2 separate regions of the Homo sapiens genome follow, and region 1 is linked to region 2. Evidence: promoter capture Hi-C in 16 types of primary human blood cells and fetal thymus (Javierre and others, 2016). All regions are on one chromosome and are shown on one strand. The core of a region is centred on a gene start or on the middle of the fragment in contact, and the rest is flanking DNA. Distances in the headings are between cores, read along the strand shown. Region 1 has its middle 10 kb from the start of OXT. Region 2 holds the start of SLC4A11 (solute carrier family 4 member 11).

Region 1 (4,751 bases), core at 2,218-4,717, 180 kb after region 2:
CCCTGGGTACTTGAGATTAGGGAGTGGTGATGACTCTTAAGGAGCCTGCTGCCTTCAAGCATCTGTTTAACAAAGCACATCTTGCACCGCCCTTAATCCATTCAACCCTGAGTGGACACAGCACATGTTTCAGAGAGCACGGGGTTGGGGGTAAGGTTATAGATTAACAGCATCCCAAGGCAGAAGAATTTGTCTTAGTACAGAACAAAATGGAGTCTCCTATGTCTACTTCTTTCTACACAGACACAGTAACAATCTGATCTCTCTTTCTTTTCCCCACATTTCCCCCTTTTCTATTCGACAAAACCGCCATCGTCATCATGGCCCGTTCTCAATGAGCTGTTGGGTACACCTCCCAGACGGGGCGGCGGCCGGGCAGGGTATTTATTTATTTATTTTTTGAGATGGAGTCTCGCTCTGTCACCCAGGCTGGAGTGCAGTGGCCCAATCTTGGCTCACTGCAAGCTCCGCCTCCCGGGTTCACGCCATTCTCCTGCCCCAGCCTCCTGAGTAGCTGGGACTACAGACGCCTGCCACCACGACTGGCTAATTTTTTTTGTATTTTTTAGTAGAGATGGGGTTTCACCGTGTTAGCCAGGATGGTCTCCATCTCCTGATCTTGTGATCTGCCCGCCTTGGCCTCCCAAAGTGCTGGGATTATAGGTGTGAGCCACTGTGCCCGGCCTTTTATTTTATTTTTTAGAGACAGAGTCTCACTTTGTTGCCCAGGCTGGAGTACAGTGGCACGATCATAGCTCACTATAACCTCCAACTTCTAGGCTCAAGCATGCGTGTCTTCTTTTGAGATATCTATTCAGATCCTTTGGCCACTTTTTTTTTTTTTTTTTTTTTTTTGAGACAGTCTCGCTTTGTCACCCAGGCTGGAGTGCAAAGGCATGATCTTGGCTCACTGCAACCTCTGCCTCCCAGGTTCAAGCAATTCTCCTGCCTCAGCCTCCCGAGTAGCTGGGATTACAAGCGCACACCACCAGGCCCGGCTAATTTTTTGTATTTTTAGTAGAGACGGGGTTTCACCCTATTGGCCAGGCTGGTCTCAAATTCCTGACCTTATGATCCGCCCACCTCGGCCTCCCAAAGTGCTGGGATTACAGGCGTGAGCCACCGCGCCCAGCCCTTTGCCCACTTTTTACTGGGATTGTTTATGTTTTTGCTGCTGAGTTGTTTGAATTCCTTGTATATTCTGAATATTAGCCCCTTGTCAGATGAATGGTTTGTAAAGATTTCCTCCTGTTCTACAGGTTGTTTCTGTTGATTGCTTCCTTTGCTGTTCAGAAGCTTTTTAGTTGACTGTATTCCCATTTGTCTATTTTGTTGTTGTTGTTGTTGTTGACTGTGCTTTTGAAGTCTTAGCCATAAAATCTTTACCTGGACCAACGTCCTGAAGTGTTTTCCCTATGTTTTCTTCTAGTAGATTTATAGTTTCAGGTCTTATGTTTGTCTTTAAGCCATTTTGAGTTGAGTTTTGTACATTGTGAGAGATAGGGGTCTAGTTTTATTCTTCTACCTATGGATATCCTGTTTTCCCAGCATCATTTATTAAAGAGGATGTTCTTTCCCCAGTGTTTGTTCATGATGCCTTTGTCAAAAATCAGTTGACTGTAAACACATGGATTTATTTCTGGATTCTCCAGTCTGTTCTATTGGTCTGTGTCTATTTTTATACCAATAGCCTGCTGTTTTGATTACTACACCTTTGTAGTAAATTTTGAAGTCAGGTGGTGTGGTACCTCTAAGCTTTGTTCTTTTTGCTCATTATTGCTTTGGCTATTAAGTATCTTTTGTGGTTCCATACAAATTTTCAGATTGTTTTTTCTATTTCTGTGAAGAATGTCATTGGTATTTTGATAGGGATTGCACTGAATCTGTGGATTGCTTTGAGTAGTACAGTCATTTAACAATACTCTTCCAATCCATGAGCATGGGATGCCTTTCCATTTGTTTGTATCCTTTTCAATTTTTTTTCTTTTTTTTTTTTTTTTTGAGATGGAGTCTTGCTCTGTCGCCCAGGCTAGAGTGCAGTGGCACGATCTCGGCTCACTGCAACCTCCGCCTCCCAGGTTCAAGGAATTCTCCTGCCTCAGCCTCCGGAGTAGCTGGGACTACAGGCGCCTGCCACCACGCCCGGCTAATTTTTTATTTATTTTAGTAGAGATGGGGTTTCACCATCTTGGCCAGGCTGGTCTCGAACTTCTGACCTTGTGATCCACCCGCCTCAGCCTCCCAAAGTGCTGGGATTACAGGTGTGAGCCACGGCGCCCGGACTTCAATTTTTTTTTATCAGTGTCTTATAGTTTTCATTGTAAAGGCCTTTCACTTAATTATTAGTAATTAAGTTTTGGGGGGGTCAAACGTTATATGTGAATTTTCTAGTGTGCAGGGTTTTGGCATCCATAGCCTCCACATTCTTCAAGGATCAACTGTATTTTGTTGAGGATTTTTGCATCTATGTTTATCAGGTATATTGGCCTGTAGTTTTCTTTTGTTGTTGTGTGTGTCCTAGTCTGGTTTTGGTGTCTGGGTAACGCTGGCCTCATAGAATGAGTTAGAAAAAAATTCTCTTCAATTTTTAGGAATAGTTTGAGAAGAATGGGTGTTAGTTCTTTATAAATTGGTAGAATTCCACAGTAAAGCCATCTGGTCCTGAGCTTTTCTCTGTTGAGAGACTTTTAATTATTGATTCAATGTGGTTACTCATCATTGATCTCTTCAGGTTTTCTATTTTTTTCCTGGTTCAATCTTGGTAGGTTGTTTGTGTCCAGGAATTCATAGATATCCTCTAGGGTTTCCAATTTGTTAGTGTATAGTTGTTCATAATAGTTTCTAATGATCCCTTGTATTTCTGTGATATCAGTTGTATGTCTCCTTTCTCATTTCTAATTTTATTTGGGTCTTCTCTCTTTTTTTCTAGGTTAGTCCTGGTAGTGGCTTATTGATTTTTTTTTTTTTTTTCTCACACACCAAGCACAGGTTTGTGGATTTTGTTTATATTTTTTAAAAAACAAGTTTTTATTTCATTGACCCTTTGTTTCCCTTTTTTAGTCTCTATTCTGTTTAGTTCTGCTCTGATCTTTATGTTTCTTTCCTTTGGGTTTGGTTTATTCTTGCTTTTCTAGCTCCTTGAGGAGCATCATGAGGTTGTTTACTTGAAGTCTTCCTACTTTTTTTGATGTAGGCATTTGTTGTTATATAGTAGGCTATTAATGACTGTTCCAATAATTTTGGCTTCCAAATGATTGGAAACTGAAAGCATGCAAGGCCGGTGTGGTGGCTCACACCTGTAATCCCAGCACTTTGGGAGGCAGAGGCAGGCAGATCACCTGAGGTCAGGAGTTCAAGTACAGCCTGGCCAACATGGTGAAACCCCGTCTCTACTAAAAATACAAAAATTAGCTGGGTGTGGTGGCGGGTGCCTGTAATCCCAGGAGGCAGAGGTTGCAGTAAGCCAAGATCGCACCATTGCACTCCAGCTTGGGCAACAAGAACGAAACTCCGTCTCAAAAAATAAATAAATAAATAAATAAAAGCATGCAGGATATCAGTCACTTATAACAGTCATTTTTTCCCCAATTTTATGGAATTGCATGGAATTTTTTTTTCATCTATTCATTTTCAGTCTATGTGTGTCTTTACGGGTGAAGTGAATTTCTGATAGGCAGCATACAATTGGGTCTTTTTTTTTTTTGGACAGGGTGGTGGTAACAGCAATCTGTTTGGGCCAGTCCCCAGGCCCCTGGGTGGCGTGCTGGTACTGACTGGCAGCAGCAGGCTGGGTGGGCCAGTGCCTGGGCCTCTGGGAGATGCACACAGGAATCAGTGGTAGGCAAGGTGGACCTGTCCTTGGGCTCCTGGACAGTGTGCATGTGTGGCATGCACACCAGTGGCAGTGAAGTGGGTGGATCAATCCCTAGGTCTCTGGACAGTACACATGGACGGCAGCAGTAGGTGGGGTGAGCCCATCCTCAGGTCCCTGGAAGGCGTGCATGTGTGCTGACAGTGCAGGTCAACCCCCAGACCCCTGGATGACATGCATGGGTACTAGCATTGACATCAGTAGGTAGGGTGGGACCCTTAGGCCCCTGGATGGTGCACACGGGTGGTGATGGTGGTGGGCTGGGCAGATTGAATCTCAGGCCCCTGGATGATGTGCACAGGTGCTGGCAGCAATGGTGGTGGTGAAGGGCAGGGCAGGCCTGTTTTCAGCCCCCCAGATGGTGTGCATGGGCACTGGCAGTGGCAGATAGGATGGATTGATCCCCAGGCCCTGGAAGGCATGCTCGGGCACCAGTGGCAATGGTGGTGGGCAGGGCGAGCCTGTCCTCAGATGTCCTCTGCACCTGCAACCGATGTGTGGGCTATTTCCACACAGCCAGTGGAGTGGGAGAGAATGGTAGCCCCACCAAAGAAAAATAATTCATGACCAGTATTTTTTCAGTTTTTTTCCCCCAGCTTTATTGAGGTATAATTGACAAATAAAAATAGAGTATACTCAGCCGGGCACGGTGGCCCACGCCTGTAATCCCAGCACTTTGAGAGGCCAAGGTGGGCGGATCACTTGAGGCCAGGAGTTCAAGACTAGCCTGGCCAACATGTTGAAACCCTCCACTAAAAATACAAAAATTAGCTGGGCATGGTGGTGGGCGTCTGTAATCCCAGCTACTTGGGAGGCTGAGGCAGGAGAATTGCTTGAACCTAGGAGATGGAGGTTGCAGTGAGCCGAGATCATGTCACTG
Region 2 (5,176 bases), core at 768-3,267:
TGGGGCACAGGACAGGAGATCTGGGGCACCAGTATTTGCCTTCAGCGTCAGACGATCTACACAGGACAGGAGGCAGGTGGGAGGACTGAAGGAAACAGCCTCTGAAACGGTCAGTCTGGAGGCAGCAGGCGTGTGGGCCTCAGGGGTTCCCTCCAGGAAGGCCGAGGGAACAGAACCGCAGGGGCAGAGCACAGGTGTAGCAGAGAAGGGCTCAGTGCCAGTTCCTTTGAGAGACGGTCAGGGAGCGGACAGAGGGGGCCCATAGCCGACTAGGGGCGGCTTGGTCATGGGCTCCTCTTTCCTCAGTGGGCTGAGGGGTTAGGTCCTTTGAGGAGCGCTGAGGAGACTGTGGTAAGGGGAAGCGCCCTCCATCCCAGAGGCTTTCCTGGAACAAGTGGGTTGGAAGGACCAGGTGTTTGGGAGCTGCTGGGAGCAGGTGCAGAAGCCAAGGCATTCCCAGATGGGGGAGACTGGGGGTGGCAAGGTGGCTTTTCAGGGATCCAGCCTGCATGCCACCTATGCAGCCATGCTCCGGGGGCGACATCCGCCTGTGTCCTTCAGCTCTTCCTCAGCCTCCACCCGCCACCCGGGAGTCAGTGCCTGGACTGGAGCTCTAGCTGGAGGGCGTCTAGGAAAGGTCCCAAGGGGTGCGCAGGATGACCTGGTGTCTCTCCAGAGTCACCCCTGCTAAAATACTATGTGGCCAGCCCCAAGTCAGTTGCAGGTCATGGTGTTGGGATCTTCCACAAGGCCTCCTGGAGTCGCGCTGGGGGAGGGTGGGGTACTCAGTCTGTCGCAGAGCCCCAGGCCATCCGTCGCCAAGAGGAGCACTCCAGCGCTTCCCTCCTAATGCGTTCTTATCTTGCCGGGAGGAGAACTGGGCCAGCCTTACTCACCCAATCTATGCATGAGGCTTCCCCAACGCGCCAGAAGCCCTTCCTTCGCAGAGGTGGGCTTGCCCCGGCCTGTCCCCGTTCCTCTACCATGGTTAGGGCACAGTGGCCGAGGACTCCGTCCCAGCGCGGCTGAGCCGGAAAGCGATGGCGGCCGGAGGGGTCGGGAGGTTGGTTAGCGCTTTACGGAGCTGCGTGTTCCGTTTCCAAGGGCTGTAGAGCCTTCTACTGGGAGCCACCGTGGATCAGGCCAGGGGTTCGTCAGCTGCATTTGCCGGATCGCATCGCAGCACGCGCACCCACACGCGCACACGCCCTACTCGCAGGAGACTAAGCGCCCCGAAAAGGCGCGTCCCCGGGCGGGTCGCAGCCGGTCCAGGAAAGGGGACAGGGCGCAAGGGCCATTTGGGGAAGGAAAAAGGGGGCGAACCATGACCTTGACCTCATAGAAGGCCGAGGACGTGAAGAGGCTGGCAGATAAGTTGGCGAGGCTCGCAGCGAAAACCCAAAGCAGCCGAGCTCGGAGAGCGCCGTCTCAGCGGGCGAGGGCGTAGCCCGGGGAATGCACGGAGGTCCGTCTAGTCAGTCGGGGCGCGCTTCCTGGAGGAGGAGGAGAAGGACTTGCGGCCGGAGCTACCGGGATAAATGCAGGAGGCGGGGCAGCCAGCGGGCGTGGCCCTGCGGAGGTCCCCGGTCGAAAGGAGGAGACAGGGGCCGGCCGCGTACTTAAAGCGGACGCGGGGGAAGCCCTCCCGGGGTCTGCCTCAGTCGCACAGCTCGGTGGGCTCGTGGCGCAGTCGAACGTTTTCCCAGAAGCTCCCCGGCCCCGTCCAGCCCCTAAACTCGCGACGCTGGGTCTGCTGGGTCCGGCGCGCACAGGCTCGAAGGAGCCGGGTCTACTCGGTTTGGCCCAGCAGCTGCGGGCGGCGGGGAGCAGCCCAGCCCGGCTGGAGCAGCCTCCCGCGGGTGAGGGCGCGGGGCGGGCGGCCGGGTCCCAGCCCTCGGCAGCTCTGCCTACCGCGCCCGGGCGCGGCGTCTGAGCGGCATTAGGACCCAGGCGCGGCGTGGGGGTGTGTCGCCGGCTCCCGCCGCCGGCCCGCCCGAGTCGCCGAGTTTGGGGTCCAGAAGCGCCGGAGCGCCGCGTGAGGAGCCCGGCCGTGAGTGCGCGAGTGTGCCATGGCCGCGGCCACCAGGCGCGTGTTCCATCTGCAGCCGTGCGGTGGGTGCCTGAACCCGGGGGCGCGGCGGGAAGGCCGCCCGGGTCTCCGCCACCGTCTCCCGTCGGGGACCCCGGGGAGAACGCGGATGCCGTCTGCCTGCGCGGGCCGGGGCCGGTGGGCGAGAGGGCTGCGGGATTCCCAGCCGCGGGGAGGAGGGCGCGGGTGCGGGAGGCCCGGGCGCGGCTTCGCGGCCACCGCGCGCTTGGTTTCATTAGGGCTCTGCTGTCGCCGTCTTGAATTTCTTACCAGGTTTGAACAGCTGATGCAGCGGGTCGAGGGCGGGGAGCTCGAAAGTGGGCAGGGCGGAGCTGTGGGGCTCCCAGCGCCCCGAGCGCCGAGCTTTTGGGAGCCTGGCGGGCCGCCGCCTCGGAAGGTCTCATTTTACCTTCCGCCCGGGCATCTTCCCGTCCGGCGCCGCGGTGGGAGCCCCGGAACCCCTGGAGTTTTGGGAGTCCCGGGACCCCTGACCGTGCCCTGCGCGGCCGCAGCGGTTTCTCCCTTGCTCTGACACGGGAGGGCCAGCCCTGGGTCCCCGCCAGGACCCAGGTTTGTACGACCCTTTACCTGCACGTGGGCCGCCGGGACGGAAGCGGAGTGTGCACCGGCCCAACCCTCCCAGACCCTCGTCGCCCACGGCCTGGGACGCGCCCCAGCGCCCCCGCCCCCCACTTCAGGATGCAGCCCCGGCTCCCGCCCCGCGCCTGCATTCACATCCTGCGCCCCGACCCCCGGGGTCTCCGAGTCTGGAGGCGCTTTCCTCTCGTGCACGCGGCCCCTCCTGTCGCTTCCTTCCTCCGACAGCGAGGCACAAACAGCCGGGACCATCCGGGGACCGGCCCAGGGAGGGCGCAGCCTCCCCCGACCCATGTGTCCCTCAGATACTCCTCCCACCCCCAATTGTTCTCCCTTTTGGACCAACGGCTCTGGCTTCCAGGCGGCCGGGACGCGGTCCCAGGACTGGAGACCGTTGCCTGTCGGCCCCCGTGTGACCCGGGGCGCGTGACGGGGGTCGGGGGAACTGCGCCTGCAATGGGCGTTTATGGCCCCCAGGACCGGTCTGAGAGTGAGAAGAGGGATGTGCAGAGAGATCCCCCGCCTTGGCATCCGAGGAGAGAGGGGGAGAGGCCCGCTCGGGCCCGGTCCCTTCCTCTCGCTGCAGCGGGGCAGGGTTTTCTCAGGAAAACCTGGATTAGCGAACATGGTACTGGTACTAACTCGGTGGGAAGACATCCCTGGAACGTCTCTCCTCCTCGCCTCTGGCCCGCCTGGGCAGCCCCTAGCAGATGGGCTAAGCAATTGAATTTCTGAGATTAAGGCTGGCTTCCCCTGCTATGGGGCCCCCTCCCGAGCACTGTCCCCTGCTTCCCTTTCTCCCTAGGGTGGCGTGGGTTGCATCCCTCGGAAGAGCGAAGGAATGAGCCAGGTCGGGGGGCGGGGAGACAGGTGCACACAGGAGGTCCAGGGCTTGGTCCATGGGGCTGGTGACCTTTCTGCTTCCCTTGCAGAAAACTCTCCCACCATGTCGCAGAATGGATACTTCGAGGATTCAAGTGAGTACCTCTCGGGGAGTGTGTGTGTGCAGAGAGAGCTTGTCGGGCAAAAGCCTCCAGGGTGCATAGCCTACCCACCAGAGTCCTGTGGCTTTGCTCGCCTATCTGGGCCACTCTAGTGCTGGAATGCTTTTGGCTTCCACTCTTCGGGAAGCTAGACATGGGCGGATCCCCCGTGGACCTGAGAGGGCAGGCTGCCCATTCTCCTGGGCTACTTGGACCAGGTGAACCCTCTGGGATTCTTACCCAAGGTTTTCTGTGACAATGGCCTGTTATCTGACTAGCCTTGGGCCAAGAATTCTGTGTGCCCCTGTCCCTCTGTCCTCACCCAGCCCTGGAGGGAATATCTGTCGTTGTCTCTTTAAAGAAATATAAGGCCTCTGTGCTGCAGTCCCTCGGGCACCTTCCTGCTGTCCCTGCTTGTACCAGTCCAGCTGTCTTCCTCCTCATGTCTCTGGGCTGGCTTCAGGCTGTGTCCTGTGCCTAGCCCCATGAGTGACCTGACCATTCGAGGGTTGTTTGTAGAGCAGTGCGTAGACACAGGGCTGATGTTCCCTTACCCAGAGCCCTCAGGACATGGGGCTCTGTGTGCTAGGCTGCTGGTGGGCAGGTTACGTATGGGGCTGGGACTAGGACTTGGCATTGCAGGAGCCCCCCAGGAACCTGGTAGTGTCAGCTGGGCAGGTCCTTAATCTAGGGGACCTGAGCACTAAGTCTAAGGTAGAGCTGAGGGCATCAGGGGAAGAATGGGGGAAGAACGGGGCTGTGTGAAGGGCAGTGGAGGGGACTAGTGGGTGCTGGTTGAGGGGCAGAGGGGAGGCTGGGACAAGTTCGGGCCAGGGGAACCAGACAGTTTAAACAAGGCAAGCCTGACCCGGGGAGGAAGGAGTTTATCATGAGCTCCAGAACCAAAGCAGTGAGGACGTCTTTTGTTTTGTTTTGTTTTGTTTTGTTTTGTTTTGAGTCTCGCTCTGTCGCCCAGGCTGGAGTGCAGTGGTGTGATCTCGGCTCACTGCAAGCTCTGCCTCCTGGGTTCACACCAGCCTCCTGCCTCAGCCTCCCGAGTAGCTGGGACTACAGGCGCCCGCCACCACACCCGGCTAATTTCTTTTTGTATTTTTAGTAGAGACAGGGTTTCACCATGTTAGCCATTGTTAGCCAGGATGGTCTCGATCTCCTGACCTCGTGATCCGCCTGCCTTGGCCTCCCAAAGGCAAGGATGTCTTTTGACCTAATATTTCTTCTCTGGGCTCTGGAGGTAGTGCAGGCCTGGGCCTGGGAGTCACCAGTCCCTGGGGACTTTGATGCAGGAGGCACTAGGGCTTCCTACCCAGAAGGGGCCCAGGCTAAACTCAGGACACTGGGGGAACAGGGCCTGGGATGTGCCAAGGAAACTGGCGGCGGGAGTAGAAGTGAGTCAGGGTGAGTCACTCCCTGGCAGGTGCAGGCGTGCTGCTGACCCATCCTTGTTTCTGCACAGGTGTCTGTCAGGCATCAGTGGGGTCTGGGCTAT

Evidence for each region. The method cuts DNA at HindIII sites, captures the fragments that hold promoters and counts their contacts. A CHiCAGO score of 5 or more calls a contact.
Region 1: a contact is called between a fragment that was not itself captured here and the fragment with the promoter of SLC4A11 in region 2, in 1 of 17 cell types (naive CD4 T cells). The highest score is 6.1, in naive CD4 T cells.

Annotation. Positions count from the first base shown.
Region 1 is chr20:3,058,935-3,063,685 of GRCh38, reverse strand. No RefSeq gene overlaps it. Among named protein-coding and RNA genes, the nearest start is that of OXT, 10 kb to the left of the region's middle. RefSeq lists enhancers at 3,570-4,069, 4,070-4,571. The HindIII fragment of the contact is 3,419 bases long and covers 1,758-4,751 here.
Region 2 is chr20:3,236,031-3,241,206 of GRCh38, reverse strand. SLC4A11 (solute carrier family 4 member 11) reads left to right here and starts at 2,017. Exons shown (of 20, transcript NM_001174089.2): 1 at 2,017-2,112; 2 at 3,619-3,663. The coding sequence starts at 2,070. RefSeq lists silencers at 1,768-1,927, 2,028-2,207. The HindIII fragment of the contact is 32,660 bases long and covers 1-5,176 here.